4 separate regions of the Homo sapiens genome follow, and regions 1, 2 and 4 are each linked to region 3. The links are contacts of gene promoters, found by promoter capture Hi-C in blood cells and fetal thymus (Javierre and others, 2016). All regions are on one chromosome and are shown on one strand. Each heading gives the region's core, a stretch centred on a gene start or on the middle of the fragment in contact. The rest is flanking DNA. Distances are from core to core; before and after follow the strand shown.

Evidence for each region. The method cuts DNA at HindIII sites, captures the fragments that hold promoters and counts their contacts. A CHiCAGO score of 5 or more calls a contact.
Region 1: a fragment that was not itself captured here is called in contact with the fragment with the promoter of ACADM in region 3 in 1 of 17 cell types (fetal thymus); the score reaches 9.9 in fetal thymus.
Region 2: a contact is called between a fragment that was not itself captured here and the fragment with the promoter of ACADM in region 3, in 3 of 17 cell types (non-activated CD4 T cells, total CD4 T cells and activated CD4 T cells). The highest score is 7.6, in non-activated CD4 T cells.
Region 4: a contact is called between a fragment that was not itself captured here and the fragment with the promoter of ACADM in region 3, in 2 of 17 cell types (fetal thymus and non-activated CD4 T cells). The highest score is 7.5, in fetal thymus.

What each region holds. Positions count from the first base shown.
Region 1 is chr1:77,992,802-77,999,815 of GRCh38, forward strand. It overlaps a transcript of DNAJB4 not described here. Among named protein-coding and RNA genes, the nearest start is that of DNAJB4, 8.6 kb to the right of the region's middle. The HindIII fragment of the contact is 2,170 bases long and covers 1,069-3,238 here.
Region 2 is chr1:77,781,873-77,788,289 of GRCh38, forward strand. It overlaps MIGA1 (mitoguardin 1), which reads left to right. Exons shown (of 16, transcript NM_001416120.1): 2 at 1,366-1,479. The coding sequence starts at 1,381. Among named protein-coding and RNA genes, the nearest start is that of MIGA1, 5.4 kb to the left of the region's middle. The HindIII fragment of the contact is 3,599 bases long and covers 1,515-5,113 here.
Region 3 is chr1:75,719,759-75,726,778 of GRCh38, forward strand. It overlaps ACADM (acyl-CoA dehydrogenase medium chain), which reads left to right and starts at 4,951. Exons shown (of 12, transcript NM_000016.6): 1 at 4,951-5,059. The coding sequence starts at 5,030. It also overlaps a transcript of SLC44A5 not described here. RefSeq lists enhancers at 1-604, 4,337-4,426, 5,077-5,166 and silencers at 4,797-4,846, 4,897-4,946. The HindIII fragment of the contact is 3,396 bases long and covers 2,052-5,447 here.
Region 4 is chr1:77,963,653-77,970,513 of GRCh38, forward strand. FUBP1 (far upstream element binding protein 1) reads right to left here. Exons shown (of 20, transcript NM_003902.5): 2 at 6,273-6,363; 3 at 4,513-4,551; 4 at 3,975-4,014; 5 at 3,397-3,449; 6 at 3,232-3,303; 7 at 3,042-3,099; 8 at 1,417-1,579; 9 at 1,218-1,316; 10 at 994-1,095; 11 at 602-704; 12 at 410-510; 13 at 1-63. Among named protein-coding and RNA genes, the nearest start is that of FUBP1, 12 kb to the right of the region's middle. RefSeq lists a silencer at 1,964-2,166. The HindIII fragment of the contact is 936 bases long and covers 1,624-2,559 here.

The DNA of each region.
Region 1 (7,014 bases), core at 904-3,403, 2.3 Mb after region 3:
CAACCTCTGCCTCCCGGGTTCAAGCGATTATCCTGCTTCAGCCTCCCGAGTAGCTGGAATTACAGGCATGTGCTACCACACCTGGCTAATTTTTGTATTTTTAGTAGAGACAGGGTTTAACCATGTTGGCCAGGCTGGTCTCGAACTCCTGACCTGAGGTGATCTGTCCGCCTCAGCCTCCCAAAGTGCTAGGATTATAGGCTTGAGCCACCGCGCCCGGCCTATTTCTGAGTGTTTATTGTAAAAACTATAGTTTTTAAAGTTTGCCAGATGCAATAAAATTTTATCATGTTTAGTGCTTTATTTAGACTTTGCTCTCCCTCCAGCGAAGAATAATTTGTATAAAGCAGAAGTTGGCAAACATTTCCTGGTAAGGGCCAGACGGTAACTATTTTAGGCCTTGTGGGCCATACAGTCTCTGCTGCAGCTACTCAACTCTACCGCTGTCTGGCAAAAGCAACAATAGACATTAGGTATTACTTTATATAGTTATAGTATAAACTCCTTTTTCTTTTATTTTTTTTCTTTTTTGAGATCGAGTCTCGCTCTGTCACCCAGGCTGGAGTGCAGTGGAACAATCTTGGCTCACTGAACCTCCACCTCCCGGGTTTAAACAATTCTCCTGCCTCAGCCTCCCAAGTAGCTGGGACTACAAGTGTGTGCCACCACATCTGGCTAATTTTTTTGTATTTTTAGTAGAGATAGGGTTTCACCACGTTGGCCAGGCTGGTCTCGAACTCCTGACCTCAATTGATCCGCCCTCCTTGGCCTTCTAAGGTGCTGGGATATAGGCATGAGCCACCGTGCCTGACTTATTTATAGTATAAACTCCTTAAGGGTAGGGACTATGTATTATACTGTTTTATCCTTCATGTTACATGTAACAGTATAGCACAGTGGGGTCTCAGTAATGGTTGGCTTGATATGCTGATTTGACCTAGATAACAAAAAGTTTATATTTTTGAAATATTAATAACTTGAACATTAAAACCCATCCATTTACAGTTAATTTATTTTAGAGATATATTTTTCTCTAAATATCCTTCTTTAGACAATTATAATAGTTCAAGCTTATGCATTTGGAATTAGGTAGTCAATGGCTGAATTTTATAGTAGTTGGTAAATACTATAGGACATACGGGCTTATTTATATAAATGTTCTAATACTTATATTTGGTAGCCATTATTAAAGTCTTCGAATCATAGTTAAGTCTCCATGGTAGCAGTGGTTTCGTGATTATGTTTTAATGGATGCAGTATACGATAAAGTTAATTCATAGTTAAAGTTTGGTACTGATTTAAATTAAATCATTTGAGAGGCCAGGCACAATGGCTCACACCTGTAATCCTAGCACTTTGGGAGGCGGAGGTGGGAAGATAGCTTGAGCCCAGGAGTTCAAGACTAGCCTAAGCAAAATAGGGAGACCCTATCTCTACAAAAGAAAAAATAGCTAGACATGGTGGCACATGCCTGTAGTCCCAGCTATTTGGGAGGCTGAGTTGGGAGGACTACTTGAGCCCCGGAGGCTGAGACTGCAGTGAGCCATAATGAAACCACTGCACTCTAGCCTGGGTGACAGAGCAAGACTGTCTCAAAAAAAAAAAAAAAAGAAAAAAATTATTTGAGAATTGTAAACAATTAGCTAAACAAACTTGCTAAATAATCAGTTTGTTGCAGTCTTGGCTAAGAGCCTAATAATTCAATGAAACAGCTGCATATCCTCTCCTCCTCTTGGGCTACAGACATTTTTTTTCTGTGTACTCCTTAAACTACTCTCTCTCTTTTTTTTTTTTTTTAACTACTCTCATTTTTCTAATGAGCCAATTAAGATGACATCTCAGGCCACATATAAGAAAAGAGTATGAGAAGAGACATTTTAGAAAAGATAAAAGTGAAAATCACGTAGATTCCTCATTTCCAAGTGTTGCTTTTACAATTAAACATTGTGAAAGTGTATGTCAACTGAGCATGTGTAAATACATTCCTACTACCTTAAGTGTAAAGTATTATTTTGAAAAAAATTATCATATTGTTTATATGGATGAACAATGTAGTACTATTTTATAAGTAAAATAGAGTTCACCTGTTAAGACTTTATTTACCCTAAATGTGCATGTGAGAGGTATGTATGTGTGGTATACTTGGGCTGAGATTCACAGGCTGAGATTTCTGAAAAATTGGATTATAGTACTGCCGACTAGAAGGAACCACTAGATCTGCACTGTCCAACACAGTAGCCACTAGCCACATGAGACTCTTAAGCTACTGAAATGTACCTATCTGAATTGAGGTCAAAGTGTAAAATACATGCTGTATTTCAAATATTTAGTACAAAAAATAAAGAATGTAAAGTATTTCATTGATAATTTGTATTTTGATTATATGCTGCAATGATAATATTTTGGATTTACTAGGTTAAATAAAATACATTATTAAAATTAATTTCACGTTTGTTTTTACTTTAAAAAAATATGGTTTCTGGAAATGTGGCTTGCATTTGTAGCTTGCTTTATATTTCTGTTGGACAGCACTGGTCTAAATAGTGTGATCTTTCAACACAGGCAAAATGTTATAATGAAATATTAGTTTATCAAGACCCATTTAAAATGATGTAGAAACTCTAGCTCTTTTTAAAATTTTTTGGCTAATACAGTGTTTTTGGTTTTGAGACAGTCTTGCTCTGTTGCCCAGGCTTGAAGTGCAGTGGTGTCGTGATCATGGCTTATTGCAGCCTCATCTCCCTGGGCTCAAGTGATCCTCCTGCCTCAGCCTCCCAAGTAGCTAGGACTACAGGTGCATGCCACTACATCTGGCTAATCTGTTTTATTTTTTGTAGATACGAGGTCTCACTATGTTGCTCAGCTGGTCTTGAACTCCTAGACTCAAGTGATCCTTTTGCCTTGGCTTCCTAAAGTACTGGGATTACAAGTGTGAGCTATCACCCTGGGCCTAACTCAGTGTTTAAAATCAGTGTAAAGAACACTTTATTTTAAATTAGCTGGGTGTGGTGGCACATGCCTGTAGTCCCAGCTACTTGGGAGGCTGAAATAGGAGAATCACTTGAACCCGGGAGGCGGAGGTTACAGTGAGCCCAGACTGTGCCATTGCACTCCAGCCTGGGCAACAGAGTGAGATTCTGTCTCAAAAAACAAAACAAAACAAAAAAAGAACTCTTTAAATTATTTCAAAATGCCAGAAAAGTATATTAGCTCGCCATACATTCACTAGTCATTAGCAAGCTTTCAAGGACTTATTGTAAAAGAGGGTAACAAAGAAGGGCTAGTTGTTGCTTGAATATTTTATTCATCCCAGTTAGAATAAGTTAGTTCTATACTCCCCAAAAAAGGAAATGATATATATATTTTTTGGATACAGGGTCTTATTGTGTCACTCAGGTTTGAATACAGTGGCATGATCACGGCTCACCTGCAGCCTTGACCTCCTGGACCCAAGCCATCCCCCTGCCTGAGCCTCCTGAGTAGCTGGGACTACAGGCACATGCCACCATGCCTGGCTGATTTGTAAATTTTTTGTAGGGATGGAATTCTCACTTTGTTACCCAGGCTAGTCTCAAACTCCTGGGCTCAAGTGATCCTCTCACCTCGTGCTTCTAAAGTGCTGGGATTACAGGTGTAAGCTACTGCACCTGGCTGATTTATTTTTTTAAGTATAAAATATGTCTGATCCCCTGGGTGTCTCCAAATCTAGTAATTTCTATACATTTAAAGCAATTTTATTTTCTTGTTTTTTGAAAGGTAGGTACTTTTTAATTTTTTAAACAATTTAAAATCTTGTTTTAAAGACCACTAGACAAAAAAATTAAATGTATATATTATAGTGCTTCGGGGAAAGTATTATAAAACCAAGCCATGACACAGTATCAACATTTGAAAACTTGGGGAATTACTAATATTACTGTAGCGATAAAATGGAAATTTTGATGATACAGACAATAGTCCACAGAGAATTATGACTAAAATTATTCTTCCTACCAACCATTTTAAGTTAGTTTGCCATCTTATGTTGGTGCTCTTGGAGGCTTACAAATTATTATTATTTGAGACAGGATCTCCCTCTGTCACCCGGGTGGACTGCGATCACGGCTCACTGCAACCTTGAGCTCCTGGTCTCAAGTGATCCTCTAGAGTAGCCAGAACCACAGGCGTGAGCCACAGCGCCTGGCCAGGAAGCTTACAGATTATTAATGAAACTTTGTTAAGAACCCTTTACCTTACTGACAACCAGAAAAGTAATTTCACTGGTTTGGGAATAAATGGACACTTAAGAAATGAAGCAACCTCTTCAAGTAATTTTTTTTCAAAGACCAAACTATTGAATTAGTGCTTTTTGAAGAGCATAAAAGAGCAGTCATCAAGTGTGACATTAAAAACTTTCAGCTGGGTGCAGTTGCACATGCCTGTAATCCCAACACTGGGAGGTTGAGACGGGAGGATTGCTTGAGCCCAGGAGTTTGAGACCAGCCTGGGAGACATAGTGAGAACCTGTCTCTACAAAAAAAAAAAAAAAAAAATCTATATCTATATCTATATCTATATATCTATATATATATTAGCAAGATGTGGTGGTGGTGTGAGCCTGTAATACCAGTTACTTGGGAGGCTGAGCCCAGGAGAGATCATGGCTGCAGCGATCTGTGACAATGCCACTGCACTCCAGCCTCGGTGACAGTAAAACCCTGTCTCCATAAAAAAAACTTCGAACAATCTGACCGTAACTTATTTTCTGCCAGCTTCCCAGGGCAAGCCTTCCTAATTTGCATGCATTAATCTCACCAGTATTTTTGCTGTATCAAATACATTTTATGCTCTTTTGCTTCTTGACTTAGTGTTCCTGATCCAAATTGCAAATTCTCCCTTTCTCTGTCAAAATCTATCAGTCTTTCATGACTTTGCTCACAATTTTCTGTTCTGAAGTCTTTCCTATCCCCACCACTCCAGCCCAAGTTGAGGATAATAATTAACTTTTTTTTTCTTCTTTTCTTTTTGAGACAGTCTCCCTCTGTCACCCAGTTTGGAGTATAGTGGCATGATCTTGGCCCACTGCAACCTCCACCTCCCAGGCCCAAATGATCCTTTCACCTCAGCCTCCTGAGTAGCTGAGACCACAGGTGCACGCCACCATGCCCAGCTAATTTTGTATTTTCACGGGGTTTTACCGTGTTGGCTGGTCTTGAACTCCTGGCCTCAAGTGATCTGCAGTCCTTAGCTTCCCAAAGTGCTGGGATTACAGGCGTGAGCCACCGCACCGGCCTCTGTTTGACTATCTTTAAAGCTCTTAAAACGATCTCATTTCGTTATTAACTTTTTATTGTTTGTCTTCCCCCTCTAGAATGAGTTGAATGAGAGCAAGGATAATGTCTATCTAGTTAACAGCACCTAAAATAGTGTGTGACACAAAATAAACACTCCATAAATATTTGCTGAGTGATTGAAATACTTTATTTGTGGAAAATGTGCACTATGATAACCACCTTTTTAAACAGTTTGTGTACCCATCAAATACTATAAAATGGACAGTCAGATACTGTTGACAAATTCCAAATATAATGAATCCAAACTACTGTCATTGCCTAAAAAAGGACATTTACAGGTAAGGGGCGTGGGAGAGTAGGATTTCTAAAACAATTTAAGCTTAAATGGATAGGGCTTAATGTCTTAAAGACACTTGCCTTAAGTTTATGTATTTCAGCTTGTAACGTAGATAAGGTAAGAAGTGAATCTCTTTAAAATTTCTCAGCTGAGTGCGGTGGCTCAGACCTGTAATCTCAGCACTTTGGGAGACCAAAATGGGTGGATCGCTTAAGCCCAGGAGTTCTAGACCAGCCTGGGCAACATGGCGAAACCTCATCTGTACTAAAAATAGAAAAATTAGCCAGGCATGGTGGCATGCCTGTGGTCCTAGCTACTCTGGGGGCTGAGGTGGGAAAATGGCTTGAGCTCAGGAGGTCGAGGCTGCAGTGAGCTGAGATTGTGAGATCAGGAACACAATCAGCCTGGGCAACAGAGTGAGATCCTGTCTCTAAATAAATAAATAAATAAATAGATTTTATGGGTCTGTATCTTGGCAACACATACACAATAAATAAAAATTTCCCTATTTTTCCCCTAAAGACAAAGTTGCATTTGTAGCCATCACAAAATTAAAAGGTACTGTAAGTATTATGCTCTGGAACCTTTTCACAGGAATGAGAATTGAGGGTCTGAGTTGCAAACTTACATCAAGCATTTGCTCTATAGCAATCTATGGTAATGATACCTCTTAGTGCTTACTGGTTTTTTAGGAAATTATAGTATGTAGAGGTAAGATATAGTCCGTTATTAAATGGCCAATAATTTGATTTTATATAACTATTTAGATATTATCTTAAAAACAGGTGAAACATTAGGATAGACACAGCCTAGTACCCTCTAGTTTTATGTAAATATTGGAACAGTGTATGTTTAAGAATTGTCAAGAATATCTTAGCTCATTATTAGACTGTAGCTATAGAAAAGCTCTTTGAAATCTTATCACTTGAGTATCAGATGTATGTGAGAAAGCATATGGAAGTATTTTATAAACTGTAAAGTATTATATAAATGTTATTATGGGGAAGGCATAGAACAGGTTTTTTTTTTTTTTAACACTGAGAAGATAGTAAAATTCAGAGATAAAGGTCTGAAAAGGGAACTTGGCAAGAGGCAAGATCTTGGGGGATGCCAGACTCCTTTGGGGGTGAATCTGGTAGTTACTTTAATGCTTTATGCCAAGTAAAACTTCCTGAGTCAAAGGAGACTATTTGTCAATAAACATCCAAGTGGTAGCAAAATAGTTTATATAGCTTAAAATACTGAAAATAATGTATATGTAGATGTCATATAAATTGTAGTGCTGACACATGTACTATCTCATCTGACTCTCACAATAATCTTTGTGAGTTAGGTATTCAGATAATTTAAATGATTCATCTAAGTTACTCACCTGTTAAGTGGGAGAACTGAGATTAGAAACCA
Region 2 (6,417 bases), core at 2,064-4,563, 2.1 Mb after region 3:
GACACTTGTCTGAAAACAGGTGGGTATTAACAGAAGGGGATAGTCTATTGGAGTATAGAAAAAGAGAACATAGAAATGTATGCAGAAATGAAGGGCCTAAAAAAGTGTAGCAAATAATTTTTTTTTTTTTTGGTGTAGGCAGGGTTTCACCATGTTTCCCAGGCTGGTCTCGAACTCCTGGGTTCATGGACTCAAGCAATCCACCCATCTCGGCCTCCCAAAGTCACTCCCAAAGTGCTCAGGCATGAGCCACTCACTGTGCCCAGCCGCAAATAAACTTTTATAGAGGGATTGCTGGTAATTTTTATATTCTGTTATGTAATATACAGCACTACCCAAATAAAAGAAATAATAAATTTGGTAGACATAAACATTGTGGTTATTAGAGAAGCCCATTCTCTTGTGCATTAGAGATAATGCTTAGGCGTTTTCTTGGCCTGAATGAAATATTCCTCAGGACTCTTGATTTTTGCACTCATCAGGCAACATTTTTGACTTATTAGTTCAGCTTCCTATGGTCTTTTATTTCAGGGATGGTATGTTTTGATAGAATATGTACACTAGATCGTTTATTTCTTTATTATAAATAGATAAACTTGTAAAGTGATTTATGCATCAATACCATGTAAATTTGTTTAACATGTGTTCAACTGGGTACAGTGGTAAAATTACGTTTCTGGCTCTATAAAGCAGAGACCCAGACCCTGAACCACTGCCTTAATGACCTCTCTTTGTGTGTCAACTGCTTCTCTGTACTCATCTGACTTTTCTTTTTTTGTTTAAGAGAAATAATACGCATTAAAACTATACCAAAATCATATAGCATATATGTGGCATTTCTTTGAAGATCTTTAAAATGAGACAATAGGAGAATAAATGCGTGAGTTCTGGAGTTCAGTCAGTGAACTCTGAGGTTCTAGCCCCAAGATTCTGTTCCAGATTCCATTCAGCAACCTGCCTGCCACCTACTCTCACCCCCGCAGTTATATGAAGGAAACCAAATGAATGAGAAGTAAATTTTAAATTACTCCCTAAAAAGTGTTAAATTTTTATGTAACCAGAAAAGAGAGAATCTAGAACTCGCAATTTCCTAAGGAAAATTTGCTACCCGGACTCAAAGTTTAAATCTAGCTTTTTTTTTTTTTTAACTTCTTATTTTTTATGCTATCTCCTACAGGAAGGATAGCTTATTGTTTCTTTTACGCGTTTGGTGATTAATAAATATAATTTTAGCTCAAGTGTAATGTCATCAATAATTGACTGCAAAAATAAGCTGATAGAATTAAATTTTCAGTTTGTACCTTTCATTGGTAAAGTAACCAGAAATCTTTGTGGCTAATTTTTTTTATGTTTCATTTAATGAAGATTAGAAGAGGAGCCATGTCAGAAGAAACAGTAAGTGAATCACAGTTTTCCTTGAAGACAGCAGCGCTAAGAGTGTTTGATCTTCCTCTGACTTGGTACTATTCTCTCTCCCAGGTAAATAAAAGAAGCAAACAGGAAGTTGAATATTAAGCTTATTGCTCAGAGCATATTTTGTTTACATTATTTCAGTTTTATTTGAGGTTTCTATATAGTACAGTCAAAATATTTATTACAGTAGTTAAAAAACCTACTTGGTTATTTCACGGGTTTTTGTTTTTGGTTTTGGTTATTGTAACTCTTAAAAAAAGGTTATGTTACTTAAAAATTTTTTTCTGTCTTAAGCAAACTTACATAGTCCATTATTATTACTTTCAGTGAATTATGTTATTCCAGTAGGCCTGTTCTCACTATTAACAATCCTTTAAATTTTATTGTGGTAAGGTACAAATAACATAAAATTGACCATTTTGATCATTTTTAAGTGTATAGTTCATTAGCCTTAAGTACATTCACATTGTTGTACAAACAATATCCAGAATTTTTTTCATCTTGCAAAACTCAAACTCTACAACTGTTTATCAACATCTTACTGTACCTCCTTCCCGTCATTCCCCACCACCATTCTGTTTCCTGTCTGTATGAATTCGACCAGGTACCTCACAAGTAGAACCCTACAGAATTTTTTTGTGACTAGCTCACTTTACTTAGCATAATGTCCTCAAGGTTCATCCATGTTGTAGCATATGTCAGCATTTCCTTTCTTTTTAAGGTAGAATAATATTTCGTTGTGTGGATATACTACATTTTGCTTATGTGTGTGTTTGTTGATGGACATTGGATTGCGTCCATGTTTTTGCTATTGTGAATAATGCTGCTATAAACATGGACATACAAATATCTCTTTGAGATCCTGCTTTTAATTATTTTGTGTCAAGTGAAATTGCTGGATCATACAGTAATTCTACTTTTAATTAAATTTATTTATTTATGTATTTATTTATTTATTATTATTTTTTAGAGGCAGGGTCTTGCTTTGGAGTACAGTGGCAAGATCATAGCTCACTGCAGCCTCAAACTCCTGGGGTCAAGCAATCCTCCCACTTCAGCCTCTCAAGTAGCTGGGACTACAGGCATGTGCCACCATCTCTCCACCAGTTTTTAAATTTTTTGAAGAGACAGAGTCTCAGCATGTTGACCAGGCTGGTCTTGAACTCCTGGCCTCAAATCATCCTCTCACTTTGACCTCCTAAAGTACTGGGATTATAGGTGTCAGCTGGTTCACCCAGCCCTATTTTTAATTTTTTGAGGAACTGCCATACTGTTTTTCACAGTAGCTGTACCACTTTACGTTTCTACCAATAGTGCACAGTTTTTCCACATAGTGCACAGTTTTTCCACATCCTCATCAATGCTTGTTATTTTCTATTTCATTGATAGTAGCCATCCTAATAGGTATGAGGTTATATTAGTCCGTTTTCATGCTGCTGATAAAGATATACCCAAGACTGGGCAATTTACAAAAGAAAGACGTTTATTGGACTCACAGTTCCACATGGCTGGGGAGGTCTCACAATCATGGTGGAAGGTGAAAATCACATCTCATATGGCGGCAGACAAGAGCTTGTGCAAAAAAACTCCCATTTTTGAAACTGTCAGATATTGTGACACTTACTCATTATCATGAGAACAGCAAGGGAAGGACTTGTCCCCATGATTCAGTTACCTACCATTGGGTCCCTCCCACAACACGTGGGAATTCAAGATGAGATTTGGGTGGGGACACAGCCAAACCATATCATTCTGCTCCTGGCCCCTCCCAAATCTCATGTCCTCACATTTCAGAAGCAATCATGCCTTCCCAACAGTCCCTCAAAGTCTTGACTCATTTCAGCATTAACTCAAAAGTCCACAGTCCAAAGTCTCATCTGAGACAAGGCAAGTCCCTTCCACCTATAAGCCTGTAAAATCAAAAGCAAATTAGTTACTTCCTAGATAGAATGGGGGTATGGGCATTGGGTAAATATGGCTATTCCGAATGGGAAAAATTGGCCAAAACAAAGGAGCTACAGGCCCCATGCAAGTTTGAAATCCAGCAGGGCAGTCAAAAATTTTTTTTTTTTTTTGAGAGGGAGTTTGGCTCTTGTTGCCCAGGCTGAAGTGCAATGGTACAATCTTGGCTCACCGCAACCTCTGCCTCCCGAGTTCAAGCGATTCTCCTGCCTCAGCCTCCTGAGTAGCTGGGATTACAGACATGTGCCACCACGCCTGGCTAGTTTTGTATTTTTAGTAGAGATGGGGTTTCTCCATGTTGGTCAGGCTGGTCTTGAACTGCTGACCTCAGGTGATCTGCCTGCCTTGGCCTCCCAAAGTACTGGGATTACAGGTGTGAGCCACTGCACCCGGCCAGGGCAGTCAAATATTAAAGTTCCAAAATGATCTCTTTTGACTCCATGTCTCACATCCAGGTCATGCTGATGCAAGAGGTGGGTTCCCATGGTCGTAGGTAGCTCTGCCCTTGTGGCTTTGCAGGGTACAGCCTCCCTCCCGGCTGCTTTTATGGGCTGGCATTGAATGTCTGTGGCTTTCCCAGGTGTATGGTGCAAGCTGTTGGTGGATCTATCATTCTGGGGTCTGGAGGACGGTGGCCCTCTTCTCACAGCTGCACTAGGCGGTGCCCCAGTAGGGACTCTGTGTGGGGCCTCCGACTCCATGTTTCCCTTCTGTACTGCCCTAGCAGAGGTTCTCCATGAGGGCCCACCCCTGCAGCAAACTTCTGCCTGGGCATCCAGGCATTTCCATACATCTTCTGAAATCTAGGTGGAGGTTCCCAAACTCCAATTCTTGATTTCTGTGCACTGGCAGCCTCAACACCATGTGGAAGTTGCTAAGGCTTGTGGCTTGCACCCTCTGAAGCCACAGCCCAAGCTCTATGGTGGCCCCTTTCAACCATGGCTAGAGTGGCTGGGATGCAGGGCACCAAGTCCCTAGGCTGCACACAGCACGGGGACACTGGGCCTGGCCCCTGAAACCACTTTTTCCTCCTAGGCCTCCTGGCTGGTGATGGGAGGGGCTGCCGTGAAGACCTCTGACATGCCCTGGAGACATTTTCCCCATTATCTTGGGGATTAACATTTGGCTTCTCTTTACTTATGCAAATTTCTGCAGCCTGCTTGAACTTCTCAGAAAATGGAATTTTCTTTTCTATGGCATTGTCAGGTTGCAAATTTTCCAAACTTTTGTGCTCTGCATCCCTTATAAAACTGAATGCCTTTAACAGCACCCAAGTCACCTCTTGAATGCTTTGCTGCTTAGAGGTTTCTTCTGCTAGATACCCTAAATCATCTCTCTCAAGTTCAATGTTTCACAGATTTCTAGGTCAGGGGCAAAATGCCACCAGTCTCTTTGCTAAAATATAGTAAGAGTCACCTTTGTGCCAGTTCCCAATGAGTTCCTCATCTCCATCTGAGACCACCTCAGCCTCACTTTATTATTCATATCACTATCAGCATTTTGAGCAAAGCCATTCAACAAGACTCTAGGAAGTTCCAAACTTTCCCACATTTTCCTCTCTTCTTCTGAGCCCTCCAAACTATTTGAACCTCTGCCTGTTATCCCGTTCCAAAGTCACATCCACATTTTTGGGTATCTTTTCAGCAGCACCCCACTCTACTGGTACCAATTTACTGTATTAGTCCATTTTCATGCTGCTGATAAAGACATACCTGAGACTGGGCAATTTACAAAAGAAAGCTTTATTGGACTTACAGTTCCATGTAGCTGGGGAGGCCTCACAATCATGGCGGAAGGTGAAAGGCACGTCTCACATGGCAGCCGCAAGAGAGAGTGAGAGCCAAATGAAATGGGTTTCCCCTTATCAAACCATCAGATCTCGTGAGACTTATGCGCTGTCATGAGAACAGCAAGGGAAGGACTTGTCCCCATGATTCAATTACCTGCCACTGGGTCCCTCTCACAACACATGGGAATTCAAGATGAGATTTGGGTGGGGACACAGCCAAACCATATCAAAGGTAGTATATCCTTCTGGTTTTGATTTGTATTTCCCTGATGATGTTGAGCATCTTCTCATGTGCTTATTGACCATTTATATGTATCCTTTGAAGAAATGTATATTTTAGTCCTTTGCCCTTTTTTTTTTTTTTTGTAAGACAGAATCTCACTCTGTTGCATGGGCTGGAATGCAGTGGTGCAATCTCACTGCTCACTGCAGCCTCGGCCTCCTGGGTTCAAGCAATTCTCCCTGCCTTAGCCTCCTGAGTAGCTGAGATTACAGGCGCCTGCCACCATACCTGGCTAATTTTTGTATTTTTAATAGAGTCAGGGTTTTGCCATGCTGGCCAGGCTCGTCTGGAACTCCTGACCTCAGGTGATCTGCCCGCCTCCGCCTCCCAAAGTGTTGGGATTACAGGTGTGAGCCACTTGTGCCTGGCCCCTTTGCCCATTTTTGAAATTGTTTTGTTCTCGTGGAGTTTTAGTTCTCTGTATAGTCTGGATATTAATTCCTTGTTAGTTATATGATTTCCATATATTTCTCCAATTCTGTGAATTACTTTTCTTTTCTTTTTTTTTTTTTTTGAGATGGAGTCTCACTCTGTCACCCAAGCTGGAGTGTAGTGGTGCAGTCTTGGCTCACTGCAACCTCTGCCTCCTGGGTTCAAGCAATTCTCCTGCCTCAGCCTCCCGAGTAGCTGGTATTACAGGTGCCTGCCACCACACCTGGCTAATTTTTGTATTTTTTCTTTTTTTTAGACAGAGTCTCGCTTCTTCACCCAGGTTAGAGTGCAATGGCGCAATCTCGGCTCACTGCAACCTCCGCTCACTGCAACCTCCGCCTCCTGGGTTCAAGCAATTCTTCTGCCTCAGCTTCCCAAGTAGCTGGGATTATAGGCATGTGCCAGCATGCCTGGCTAATTTTTGTATTTTTAATAGAGATGGGGTTTCACCATGTTGGCCAGGCTGGTCTTGAACTCCTGACGTCAAGTGATCCGCCTGCCTTGGCCTCCCAAAGTGCTGGGATTATAGGCATGAGCC
Region 3 (7,020 bases), core at 3,701-6,200:
CTAAAGTCATAGTATTCTGAAGACTAGAGAAATTCAACGAAGCCTGTCAATCTCCCTTGTTTGAAATCCCAAGGAGTATGTTGGCAATGAGAAACCAATATGGCCCAGTGGGATTTCAAAGGCTCTGGGACCATTGCAAAAAAGAAGGGTGCGTGAGACTCTACACATGAATTAGTGGAATGTGGAGGACAAAGCAACGCCACCTAGGATGTTAATCCACCATGTGGACTTCCCCTGTTCTGGGAAGGCTTCTAAGATTTCCCCTCTCTCTATTGTTTCTTGTGTAAAAGCATGTACTTACTGTAAATCCTGCCCTTAGATCAAGACAACTTTGATGTTATTGTATTTCAATTGTCCTACATGTCCCTTCTGAGTCACCCTTTCCCTGTGGTATACAACCCCTGGGTCTGAGGGGTAATGGCACTGGGATCCACCATCTTGTCTCACTGCCGCCTGAGATGCAGACAGGGCTTCTGTTTTTAAGTCTCCATTAAATGTTTCTTTTTGAGAAACGTTAATGTGTCAGCCTCTTTCTTTAGCCTCTCAGCTTCCTTAGACTTTGGAGCGTAGGTCTGTATAGTCCTGCTTACCTTGAAATAGATGGGTTAGGGAGAAGGAACACCAGGGAGACGTTCGAATTATTTCACCTAAAAATGTAGAGAAGTTTTGTGAAACAGTGCTTAATTAATAAAAAGGTATTTCTTGAGAGATGGTTCTATTCCTACTACTGGCAAAAATGTAGATGAAAGATTGTTTGGCATGATGCCAAATATTACCCTATAAATTACTTCCTAATTGCAAAGGGAAAACTATAACTTTACCATAGAAAGAACTGTCTGTCAATAATCAAATGATCAAATAGCATTGTCAACAAAGAGTCAAACTTTGTAAAATATTTGAAGAGATTTATTCCGAGCCAAATATGAGTGATCATGGCCCACGACACAGTCCTTGGGAGATCCTGAGAACATGTGCTCAGGGTGGTTGGGGTGCAGGTTGGTTTTATATATTTTAGGGAAATATGAGACTTCAATCAAATACATTTAAGAAATACATTGGTTCAGTTCAGAAAGACAGGACAACTTGAAGCAGGGGTGGAGCTGGGGGGGTAGGCGGGGGGAGGTTCCAGGTTATAGGCAGATTTAAACATTTTCTGGCTGACACTTGGTTAAGTTTATCTAAAGACCTGGAACCAACAGAAAGGAAATGTCTGGGTTAAGATTAAAGGATTGTGGAGACCAAAGTTCTTATTGTGCAAAGGAAGCCTTCAGGTGAGAACAGAAAAGCATTCTGTTATCTCTCTCCTTCAGAGAGAAGAGATTGTAAATGTTTCTTATCAGACTTAAGGTCTGTGTTGATGTTAACATCACTGAGGTATAAAGAGGCATGTCCAACCCCCACTTCCCATCATGGCCTGAAGTAGTCTTTCAGGTTAAATTTAAATTTTAGAGTGCCCTAGCCTACGAGAAAGTCCATTCAGATAGTTGGGGGGAATTTAGAATTTTGTTTTTGGTTTACAGCAAGCTTGTCCAACCTGCTGCCCACAGACCACATGCAACCCACAGGCCACATGCAGCTCAGGACAGCTTTGCATGCAGCCCAACATAAATTTGTAAGCTTTCTTAAAACGTTATGAAATTTTCTTGCGTTTTTGTTTTGGTTTGTAGCTTATCAGTTAACATTAGTGTTAGTGTATTTTATGTATAGCCCAAGACAATTCTTTTTCTTCCAGTGTGGCCCAGGGAAGCCAAAAGATTGGACACTGCTGGCTTACACCATCACCAATAGTGGGACAAATCTGATATTAAATGCCTCCTAATGTAATACAATATTAACTACACAGTATGACCTTTGAAGTATCCTTATCCAATGTTTAATCTGAACTCCTCAAGCCTCTGGTAACTTGCAACTGATAGGAAATACAAAATCTAGAGGTACAAAATAAATAAAATCGGACAATCCAGCATTAGGGCATTCTTCATGACAACTGCTTGGTATCTTAAATTTGTTTAAAAAGACAGTTATTATTGGGAAAAATGAATTAGATTAAAAGCTTTAGATTAAAAGAAGCCAAAGAAAGTTAAAGCCCAACTTCAATGGGCAATCATTCATAGGATCCTGGTTCAAAAACAAACTATTTACAAAAGGTATTCTGGAGACAACTGGACAACTGGAGAAATGTAAATATTCTCTGGACCTTAAATAATAGTAGCGAATAATTGTTAATTTTCATTGATGTGATAAAGGTTTTATAGGAAATGGTTATATAGGAAAATGTCCTTGTAGGAGACATATAGCTAAAGTATTCTGAACTGAAGTGTCTTATCTACAACCTACAGATCTGAGAAAAATAAAACCAACAACCAAAACACACACACATAGGTACACATATAAATATATAAATAAATATGGAAAAATATTTGAATCTAGGTGATAATGATATTGAGAAGAAATTACTCAGGCCGATAGTACGAGTATGGGAGTCCTCAGTGTAAAAAGTGAAGTAGAGGTTCCTCTTCAAATGGACTTTCCTTTCCGTCTAATTAGGAATAAACAGTAACTTCTCTTAAAAGCAAAATTTATTCAAAGAACTGTGCTAACATATTGGAGGCCGAAACAATGAGGTTCGTGATCAACTCAGTATATCACTGGAGGCTATATGAGTAAGCAGCAAACTGTTTCTCATAAATGCAGAACGTTGGCGAACTGACAAACTGCGTATGCCACCCAGGAGGACTGCTGAGGGTAGTTACGATCTAGGCACAAATGTTTCTTATGATTAGGCATAATTGAAGCCTGTCAGTAACAATATGAACCTGTGATCAATTAAGCAGCTGACCAATCGTTACCACCTCCTCCCTGCTCCTGTTACCCAAAAAATAGGAAGGGCTGTGGAAGCTCTGTGGCTGCCTTTGCTCACGAGAAGCAGGGAGCTCTCTTCTTCTTCCCCTGGCCCTTTCCTTAAAACAGTTCCTTTTGTCTTAAGTTATCATTTCTACGTTCGTCCCTTCATTTGATCTCACAATGATGGTCTCAAGCAGTAACAGTAGTAACTGCTGTAACGATGGTCTCAAGTAGTAACCGTGGCAGTTGGCCACACTAACATTCTTTGATATCTGTTGGCCGTAATAAAGAAATCAATGTACTTTGTGCTCTTAGCTGCCACATTTTAGCCTAGATATTTGCCCTGGCATGCTTATACTGGTCCAAGGAAGCATTAGGCCATAGCCTGTTTTCTTCCTTATCTGGAGGTGTTTTTACCTTTCTCAGCATTCCACAAGTTGCTTCCTCCTTCCTTTGTTCTCCTCTGTCTTTGCCTCTTTTGGAAAGTTCTAAGTTGCTAGCCAATCAGGACAAGTACAGAGGTCCCCTTCCAGCCAATGGAAACCGGACACGGTAGTAGGGTGCACGTGTCAGGTTATAAATGACCCTGTCTCCTTTATGCGTGTGTGCTCTCGTGGCAAGACTACTAGCGAGCGGCAACCTTTCTGCAGAAAGTAAACTAGCCTTGCTAAGAGCTCCTTTGTCTCAGTGTTGATTTTTGCAACACTGAGCGCCCGTTCCCAACATCAGTAAGGCTTTTCTTTTTAATGAAAAGCAGCCCCAAATCCTTTTCTAAGAGCAGCCTGTGAAGTCGAGCTGCAGGCACAGACAAACAAGGGGGTAGCTTGCTTGGGTGAATGGTGGCAGGAACTACCGACTAGACATGTTTAAGATGAGGGCTCCATCTTCGCTTCTCTGCCAGCCACGTGTACAGTAAGAAGGGGTTACAATAGGCATATGGGTGATTTTGTGCTTTTCGTTCATCTTTTCTGTGTTTAAAATGTTCAGAATAAGAAATTGGAACAAAGGAGACATGAATAGACAATTCCTAATCATCTTTAAGAGTCCGCTTTGTGTTTTACTTACCACCACCACTTTGAAGGCTTTCTTGCCTATACCAGGACAAACTCAGCTCTTTATCCCTTTTCCGAATTTTCCTGGTACTTTCACTTTGAATATAGCGCTTAATTAACATTCTGCCTTGTACCTAGGACTAACACACTATAAATTCCCAGAAGACAAAGTAGGGGAATACAATAACAGGATATAGAATTTTAACAGCTAAATTAGATGAATTTATGGGTGACCTTTATTGGGCAAAAGAAAATGTTAAGTTAGTATAAGATTTAGTATAAGCTACCATCTCAAAACTCAGGGTCTCACTGGAAGAGAAAGTGACTCCAGGTAGAATTCCTCAGGGAGACATTCACTTCCATCATTCGCTGAACCAGGAGCTTTGGACAGCCTCGGATTGCACCCGCATATCCAAGGACACCACATCAGCGGACAAGTCATAAACAGCCTTGGGAATACGCGGAAAGGTCAAATTTACCTAAACAATTAAATTCTCTTTTAAATTTTAAGGAAACACAAGTATGCTTTCGCTTTAGGTAGGGCATTTGAGAGCAAAATGTACTAATACTTTGAATCCGCCAAGCAGACACGATCTGGGTTTGACCGTTCTCTCCGGGTAAAGGTGAAGGCTGACCACGGGGGCCGCTCTCCCTCCAGGCCCCAGCCACGCCCTCTAACCCAGGTTCCCGTCCTGCACCGCGCCGCAAGTCCCCCCACCGTTCAGCGCAACCGGGCCCTCCCAGCCCCGCCGCCGTCCCCCTCCCCCGCCCTGGCTCTCTTTCCGCGCTGCGGTCAGCCTCGGCGTCCCACAGAGAGGGCCAGAGGTGGAAACGCAGAAAACCAAACCAGGACTATCAGAGATTGCCCGGAGAGGGGATGCGACCCCTCCCCAGGTCGCAGCGACGGCGCACGCAAGGGTCACGGAGCATGCGTTGGCTACCCGGCGCCGGGGACCGCTGCCACCCCGCCTAGCGCAGCGCCCCGTCCTTCCGCAGCCCAACCGCCTCTTCCCGCCCCGCCCCATCCCGCCCACGGGCTCCAGTGGGCGGGACCAGAGGAGTCCCGCGTTCGGGGAGTATGTCAAGGCCGTGACCCGTGTATTATTGTCCGAGTGGCCGGAACGGGAGCCAACATGGCAGCGGGGTTCGGGCGATGCTGCAGGGTGAGAGGGAGCCCAGCGGTGCGGTGGGGCTGGAACATGGGTATTGTGGTGTCGGAGCAGGGGGCCCTGGGCCAAAAATAGGTGCGGCCGGGAGGAGTGGGAAGTCGGGCTGAGGAAGGAGCCAGCCTAGGGGCCCCCAACCTGCTTTCACGCCTCCTACCACCGGACGGAACGTAGCCTAGCGTTTCATTTTCCGTATCCTCCCGTCAGGCGACCCCGTTATAGCCGGCATCCTCTCTTTAGAATATCGTTTTTCTTTCTCTGGTAAACCCTCCAAATATTTACCGCGGGAATCCCACCTTTTTCCAAAGTGACCCCGTCTCTGTGTCAGAACCACGGGAAAAAGAAAAATGGAGCAGCTACTCCTTGAAATACTTAATGTTTAATAAGCTTTTCGTTGTAACGTTTCCACGTTGCTTACGGGAAAAAAAAAAGTAAAAAAAAAACCTGCAGAATTTTATGTGAACTTGTGTGTATATTCTAGTATTGGATCTTAATAGATTCTAAATAAGTTTGTCACTAGATGAATTTTGGTATCTTAAATATTCTTGATATGTTCACACCACTGCCATTTAGATGTCACTTAAAATTAAGTTAAAGTTATGTCTTGGACCAAAAAAGCTGCGGTTTTAGAATAATCCTAAAGAATTGCTGCCCATGTTTTGCTGGTGTTATGCAAGTTAATGTGCAGTGAAGGCAGAAATTGGGAGATTTCAGCTATTTTTAACTCCTACACCAGAAAAGCAGATTTCTCAACCTCCAAGGAAGGATCTAAAAAAAACCTGATATAGAAAACTTACACCCTTTTTCTCTTCTTTAACCCATAAAACTGACACTCTTATATTCCCAAGAAATGCACAAAAGTGTTCAATTCTAGTGGTGCTGTTTCGATATTTGGAATTTCATTGTTCTAGACAGAGAGCCCGAAGTAATAAAACCAATAGTTATATAGCATTAGGCTTTCAAAACATTATCGTACTTTAATCGTCCGAAAATACGCAGTGAGATTAGTCCCATTTTTTGGTTTTGAACGGAAGCTATAAGCAGTTTGTAAACCTGTCTACGGCCACAAATATGGTTGTGGAACCTAGATTCACATTCAGCAATTATAACTCCAGATCCCGTGCTGTTTCTGTTTTCTATTTGCAAACCACCTCTCTAATTAACTGGCTAACTTTGTTATGTAATTAACAGGTTGATGGGCATTGTATTCTGGTAATAGCAACCTTTGCACTTTGTTCTATGTAACATATTTTCCTGAACAGTCACATGTGAAGTGACTTTTTCCCTATTTAAATTCCCTCGGTTGGCCAGGTGCGGCGGCTCACGGTTGTGATCCTAGCACCTTGGGAGGCCTCGGCGGGTTGATCACTTAAGGCCAGGAGTTCGAGACCAGCCTGGCCAAAGCAGGGAAACCCTGTCTTTACTAAAAATAGGAAAAATTAGCTGGGCATGGTAGCATATGCCTGTAATCCCAGGAGGCTGAGTCTGCAGTGAGCGGAGATCTCTCCACCGCACTCTAGCCTGGGTGACAGAGGGAGACTCTGTCAAAAAAAAAAAAAAGTCCCTCAGTAGACCATTTAACCTGGTTTGAGTTCTGACTTTTGTGCATGGTATTTAAAAACGCATTTATAATAGAGTCAGGTTTTTTGTTCTGATTTTTGTGGAATGTTTTCCTTTGTTATGGAACCTAGTGACCAATTAGGATACTAACAGAAAGATCAGTATAGCAAGGTGGTTAATAGCATGCGCTCTTGATAGTAAATGTTAGAATCCTGGTTGCACTAATAGTAGAGTGACTTTGCCTAATTTAGTTGACTTTCTGAGCCTTCGTTTCTTCACATGCGAAAGTGGAATAAAAGTAATGGCTTAATCCTAGACTTGACCTGGGATTCAGTGAATTAACCTGTGTAACGCGACTGTAAATCAGAGTAGATTTGGTCTGTGACTGCTGGACAATA
Region 4 (6,861 bases), core at 842-3,341, 2.2 Mb after region 3:
CCAGTTGCCTTGACCTCTACCTCTTCCTCGACCACCAGGTCCAGGTCCACCAGGATTACCAGCCTATAGAGAGGGAAAGACAAGAACGAAGAGTCAGCACAGAAATACTTTTGTTTCATGATAAAATTATTAAGTTTATTTTTCCCAGCTCTCATATACCTGAATCAGAAATGTAGAGATGAACTGGCCCTAATAAGTAATAACATTTTTTAAAATACAAGAGTAAATAAGGTAGCACTTAAGGTAGTAGTTCTTCCTGCTCCAAGATCTTTACCTTAAAGCAATTTAAACTTTCTCCATTAATAAAGCATCATCAAGCAGACTCTGATATAGAGGTAACTTCAGATTTCATGAAGGAAAATACTTTTCCATAAAAACAAAAAATGAAAATGTTAACTTTCTATCAAACCTGAACACTTCGAAGAAGGTCTGTAATAATTTCTGCAGCATGTTGACATCGGTCTGGAGGTCCTGTTATTTGTGCTATCCTTTCGGGTGTTGTCCCATCATCTTCAAAACAAAGAAACAAAATTAATTAAACAATAAATGTATGTCAAAACTCACTGCTGCCAACACTTACAAGATTATTATATGTACTCACCTGGCTTAAACTGAATGCGAACACCAGCATCATTTTGTATTTTTTTGATCATCTCTCCATTTCTTCCTATTACAATGCCAACAGCAAATCTTGGAATGGGGACCTTATGTAAAAAAGACTAAGTATTAAGAAAGCTAGCTTCTCAGGGTTTAAAGTAAAAAAAAGTATTTTAAAAAAGCGCCATTTCCTGAAAATCTGCCTCAAATCATAAAAGTACATATAATTCTATATTTATAGTAAATAGGGTAACAAGATATATAGAATTCTGTATTCTAAAGTATAAAGGTGAAATAAAAGGATAACAATGTTAGAGCTACTTAACACAAAACAGAAAACACTATTATATTTATGAATTAGCATACAACCATTTCTGAATGGGTATTTTTACTTACATCTATCCCTTCATTTCCTCCTATTCTTGACCCATACTCATTCCGAACTTCTCTGAAACCGCCTTGATCACGAATTAACTCTAACACCATTTCCTTGGCTTGCTAAAGCAGAAAAAGTTAGCTAATTTAGAAAGCATGTCTCAAAACATTTTAATTATTCATGCATATTTTGCCCAACCCCATTCAACCCACTCTTTCTTTATAAAGTATAAAGTTAAGTTTACTTGAACTTTATATGGGTCTCCTGTAATCCTAAGAGGTTTGTCAGCACCAGTGTTCTGCGGCCCGTCTTGAATCATAACCATTTTAACTCCAGCCCGTTCCTGTTACAATCATAGAAATAATATATATTAACAAAAGGAAGTGGACAAAAATGGGCATCAAAACAGATCAAAAGTAGCCATTTCACAAAAATAACAATACCTGAAGCTGTTTAATAGTTTCTCCCCCTTTTCCAATGACTAATCCTGCCTTGCTAGCTGGAATCATGATTTCTTGAACTGCATTTCCCGGTCCATCGCCATGATGGAAGCCAGGAGCTGGTCTTCCTTTTTCAACAATCTGGTCCAGTAACCGTTTTGCTGACCTGTTAACAAATTAATATTTAAATAGTAAGCTGTAGCATACCCAAGCTTATTCAAATAGAGAAATATAAAACAATATAACCAAGTACTCCTCCTATCCCAGTTCAGGATTAGGTGCCTTGATGCTAACTTTAACAATGCTTTTACTTTTAACTGAAAGAAAATGCCATCAAGGGTCAAAGATTGAGAGATTATGCAAAAAAATTTTCTAGATATACAATTTTTATTTTTAAGAATAGTCCAAAATTTCCAAGAAAGAACTCTAATGCTAAAGTTATCTCAGAATTAAACTGATTCTTCCAAGAACTAAATGATTTATTTACATTTTTAAACTACCATTTTGCTTACTCATATGCTACAATTATTCATTCAACAAATATTTAAATATCAACTATGTGCAGGTGCTATTCTAGGTAATGGGGTAATAGCACTCAAAGAAACAGGGTTCCTGCTAGAGTGGCTTCATTTCATTAAATAAGTAAAAATAACATGTCAAATGAATAACACATTATTTGGAAAGTGCCATAAAGAAAATCAGGCTGGGGGAAGTGGCTCACGCCTGTAATCCCAGGACTTTGGGAGGCCGAGGTGGGTGGATCACGAGGTCAAGAGATTGAGACCATCCCGGCCAACATGGTGAAACCCTGTCTCTACTAAAAAAATACAAAAATTAGCTGGGTGTGGTGGCATGCACCGGTAGTCCCAGCTACTCGGGAGGCGGAGGTTGCAGTGAGCCGAGATCGTGCCCCTGCACTCCAGCCTGGCAACAGAGCGAGACTTCGTCTCAAAAAAAAGAAAAGAAAAAACCTAGTAATGAGGGAGAACTAACAATGCAGAAGAAAGTACAACTGCAAGCTGAACCTTCAGTAGGAAGAAAGGGCTGGCTTTAGGCACTCGAACACAAAAGGAAAGCAATTACCTGAGTACTATGTGAACAGAGGAAAAATGAAGGCTGGTAGGTTTAGTGGTAGGGAAAAAGAAAAGCTTCTTATCATTTGCTTCCATTTTCTCAGTAAATAAGCTTAAGTGGGAGAGCGTGGGGTTAGATGCTGAAGATTTGGAGGTGGGGAAATACAGTATTAAAGAGCCTGGGAGAGGAGTGGAAAAGTGAATGGAACTAGGGAAATGCAGGCAACACAACAGTCCACTTGAGCTTAATGTCTGAGTTTTAAGTGTCACCAGTCGACCTGACTGTGCATTCTTCTCCAGGCTACACGTGGCTTTACAAGTAGAGACTGGAGTAGATATGGAGTTGTTTTAACCATTTTCTGTGTTTAATGATTCAGATGATGAACCCCACCTGAGAAAGGCATGAGGCATAAACTTCAAAGGAGTTGGAGGACTTTGAGGGAAGGTGGCAGCGAAACCACAGTGTAAAATAAAGCAGTAACAAAGAGAAGAGACAAAATTCAAAGAGTTCTGCTGTTGTTACTTAAGTAGATTTTTAAGATTTTTCAAACTTACTGGACAGATTCAGGTGTTCCAGTTAACATACAGGACCTTTCTGGAAGGCCACCACTGTCTACAATTTAAAACAAACAGATAACTTCAGGTCAAAAGATTAAAAGTAGCATTATTGTTACTAGAAGGCTTAAAAAAAAAAAAAAGCTAGTTTTCTAGTCACACTGAAAATACCATGAGAATGTAACATTACCAGGAGCTATCTGTATTTTGCATCCAGATTCCTGTTGTATGCGTGAGATCTGTTCACCTCCTCTGCCAATTACTAGTTAGAAAAAAAAAAATTTTTTTTTTGGTTGAAAGATTCTAAAGTATGTTTTGATCATGTTTTCAAAACTTTAAAAATCAAGTTACTTACTGAATCCAACCATTCCATCTGGAACTTTGTATTCTTCTGTCATTACAGATCTGCTAAGAAATAACAGAAAGCACCATTTTCCTTCAATGAAAGATACTTTGTTTACAAATAAAAGATAATCTATTAATAAAAATGGAAGTCTAATGTCTCCCAATGGCTTAAACTAAGGTTCTAGGCTCAGACTCATGTCAAAAAATATGATCTTATTACTTGAGTAGTTAAATTAAGAAATTTAAGATGACACATCAAGTGAAGAAGGGATGATGAATGGAACAGTCTGAAGGCATTAACTGTAAAGAAGTTGAAGTGGAGTTTAGAGAATGTCATCTTAACAGTTACTCTAATTCACCCCTGTTCTTCTAAAATGTGGTTAATTCCACCTATCTCTCCAAATCACAAATTTTTCTCACTCAAAAGAAAAATCATCACTTTATGGTACCTTCCCAAGGGGAGTGATATGAACTAGGTACACCAAAAAATACACAGACACATATTCAATATACACCAATGTGGTTGTGTTTTTACATACAGCTCAACCAAAACTTGCAGAGTACTTTTTGAAAATCTTGTGACTATACCTTTGCTGCTGATGCATCGGTGGTAACTGTGTTCCAAAAGCTATCAAAAAATTAAATAAAAATAAAACAAAAATTCAAAATTTAAATTTACTTATATATTTAACAACACAATCACATCAAACATTCAAAAATCTCTCCCTAATGCACAGACAACACCTTGAAGAGAGTCAAATTTTTTACACAATATTTATATTGGCATTGACAGGGGCAAGAGAGCCAATGAAAGGGAAGACATTATATTAGCAATGGCACAGAACAAAATAATTTCCTTTTTCAAGTTGTACAAGTATAGATCAAGAATTGGAGTTGTTAAATATGTAAAATAATTCAGCAACCAATCTTTACATATACCCGGCCACAATTAATGGGACAGATTGTAAAATAGGAGAAAAAGGTATATATTTACAAAGAAATTCAGGCTAGCTGATCCAAAATACTCATAAACCAACTAACTTCAAAGATACCCAATAATATGAACAAAATCTTAACATTGAAATTGTTACTTTAGCTTTTGACCCAGTTTAAAAGGAATACTTACAGTCATTTTGAGGAGCAACTTTCTTAGCATCTGGTTGATCTGCAAAATTAAGTGTCTTTTAATTTTTTGCCAATTAAGTACAAAGCTTCTCCCCTCCCAAACAAGAATAAATAACAATATAAACATTTATTGAAATATCTGAAGGTATGGTTTATCATTTGAACCAAAACTGCCAAAATTCAACCCCAACTCAGTAATCTAAAAAAGAAACGATACTTCATTCTCTTCACGTTCAAAAGATGCACAGACATTAAAATAGTTATCTGATTCTTAAGAAATCACTGACCTTAATGTATGTTAAGCACATTAGAATGACACAAGACAACGTACTTTAGGTCCATTACTAGCAAAATATCACATGCTAAAGGCTAATGATGCTTCCACCTCAGGAACTGAAGACTGGGGGGAGAAAAGCCTATCAAACTACAAAAATCTGACATATTAAAGTGTATCTGACAGTGACCACAAAGCTATGCCCAAAAAAAAAAAAACAAAAAAACCCCCCACAACATTACAAGGCAATCTCAACCTAAACTGTTCTATTATTTATAAACAAACATTTCACTGCATAAAACTTTAGCAAAAAAATAAAATCTCAAAGCAACTACATGACTACCTTCACCTAAATCCATTACACAGATGAATACAATGCATACCTTGGAACAGACAACCTATAGCTCAAAGTACTACATTCTCCTCCCCCCTTCAAACTTAAATGATTAAACATCAGAATGTTGTGCAGCAAAAATAAAATATGCGCAGACACATAATCCAAGAAATATTTGTGTCCATTTAAGAATCCACTGGTTTATTTCACGTTTACATACTGAACACAGGTAATAAATAAAAATTCCTGCCTTTAAAAGGAGAGGGCATTCCCTCCCAGTGTGTTGTACTGCTCGGACTTGTCCAAGAGCCATCTACACATAAAATAAAAAGAATACATTACATACAACATCTGAAGCATCATTAGCTCATTTTTTTTCTACATTAAAAACCTCACTATAAATATGAAAGACACTTAAATAAAAGGAAACCAAGTTCTCCTGGTCAAAAGCTACAAATACATTCTATAGCCTCAGTGAGAATCCTCCCTTTAAAAAAAAGGGTAAAAAGAAAATGTATCAAAACTCATATATCAAACCTAAAACAAAAAATACATGCAGACTTCTAAGTTCAGAAGCTTCAACGATTACGATTTTTAAAAATACATAGCACTGTAAATCCACTGTTTTAATCCACAGGTTTAAAGCTAAACGTGAAACACAAAAGTACTGAAAGTAAAGAACATTAAAAAAAAAATGGTATAACCTGCAACACACTAGAGTAGCAAACTATAGGAATTTCAACCTTTAAGGTGCAATTGGAAATAGAAAAATGACGAAAATACAGCATATTAAAATCCATTCACGTATGAGTAAAACCAGTGAAGTGTCTTCTAAGCAATTTATATGTTTTTTAATATTATTAACAAGACGTCTGTGCAAACTTTCAATCTGGCACAATCCTAAAAGAGGGAAAATAAATTGTTTTCTATTAAGACAAAACTTCCTTTTTTAAAAAATTTTTTAAAAAATTTCTTTCAAATTTTACTTACCTTGTCTAGTTTTCTTTCCCCCCTTTTAGGCCAATATACAGCTTACAATTTTAACAACCTTATAATAAAAGTTAATATCTCAATAAAATAACAGAAAAATACCGAGAATCACTTCAACTAAACACTCTGAAAAACAATTTAAAATACTTAGAGTATAACTTACCTCCATCTTCTAAAGGTCTTTTTTGTCCCCCATAACCATAGTCATTTGAATTCAGTGATGTCCCTGCATCACCTCCAATTTTTGCTGCAATCTAAAAAAAAAAAAGAAAAATACCATCATAAACTATTATATACTATTCATTACTAAATTACCCCCATTTACTTCCTGATACATGTATATGTGAAATATTTAGTATCACATAAGAAAATTTACTTGAAAAATTAAAATTATAGTTCAATTTATTGCTACCATTAATACTTCAGGCAGTTAACATAATAATCATAAGATTATTAAACTTCTGATACATCCCTATAAGAAGCAACAAAGAAGTAATCAACTAGGAATCCGGAAGAGAGACCAGATTTAAAGAAAATCTGGATCCTATCTGGCTCTGTCATGACACTTCAAAAGATGTGTGTAAACACATAGAATGTGAACACTTTGTGGGACTCAAAGGCTATGCTATCTAGTAAGGTAGCCACTAGCCATATGTGGTTATTGAGTACTCAAAATGTGACTAGTCTGAAATGATACTTGCTCTAAGTGTAAAATTACTCACTGAATATTGAAAACCTGGAATATAAATCAT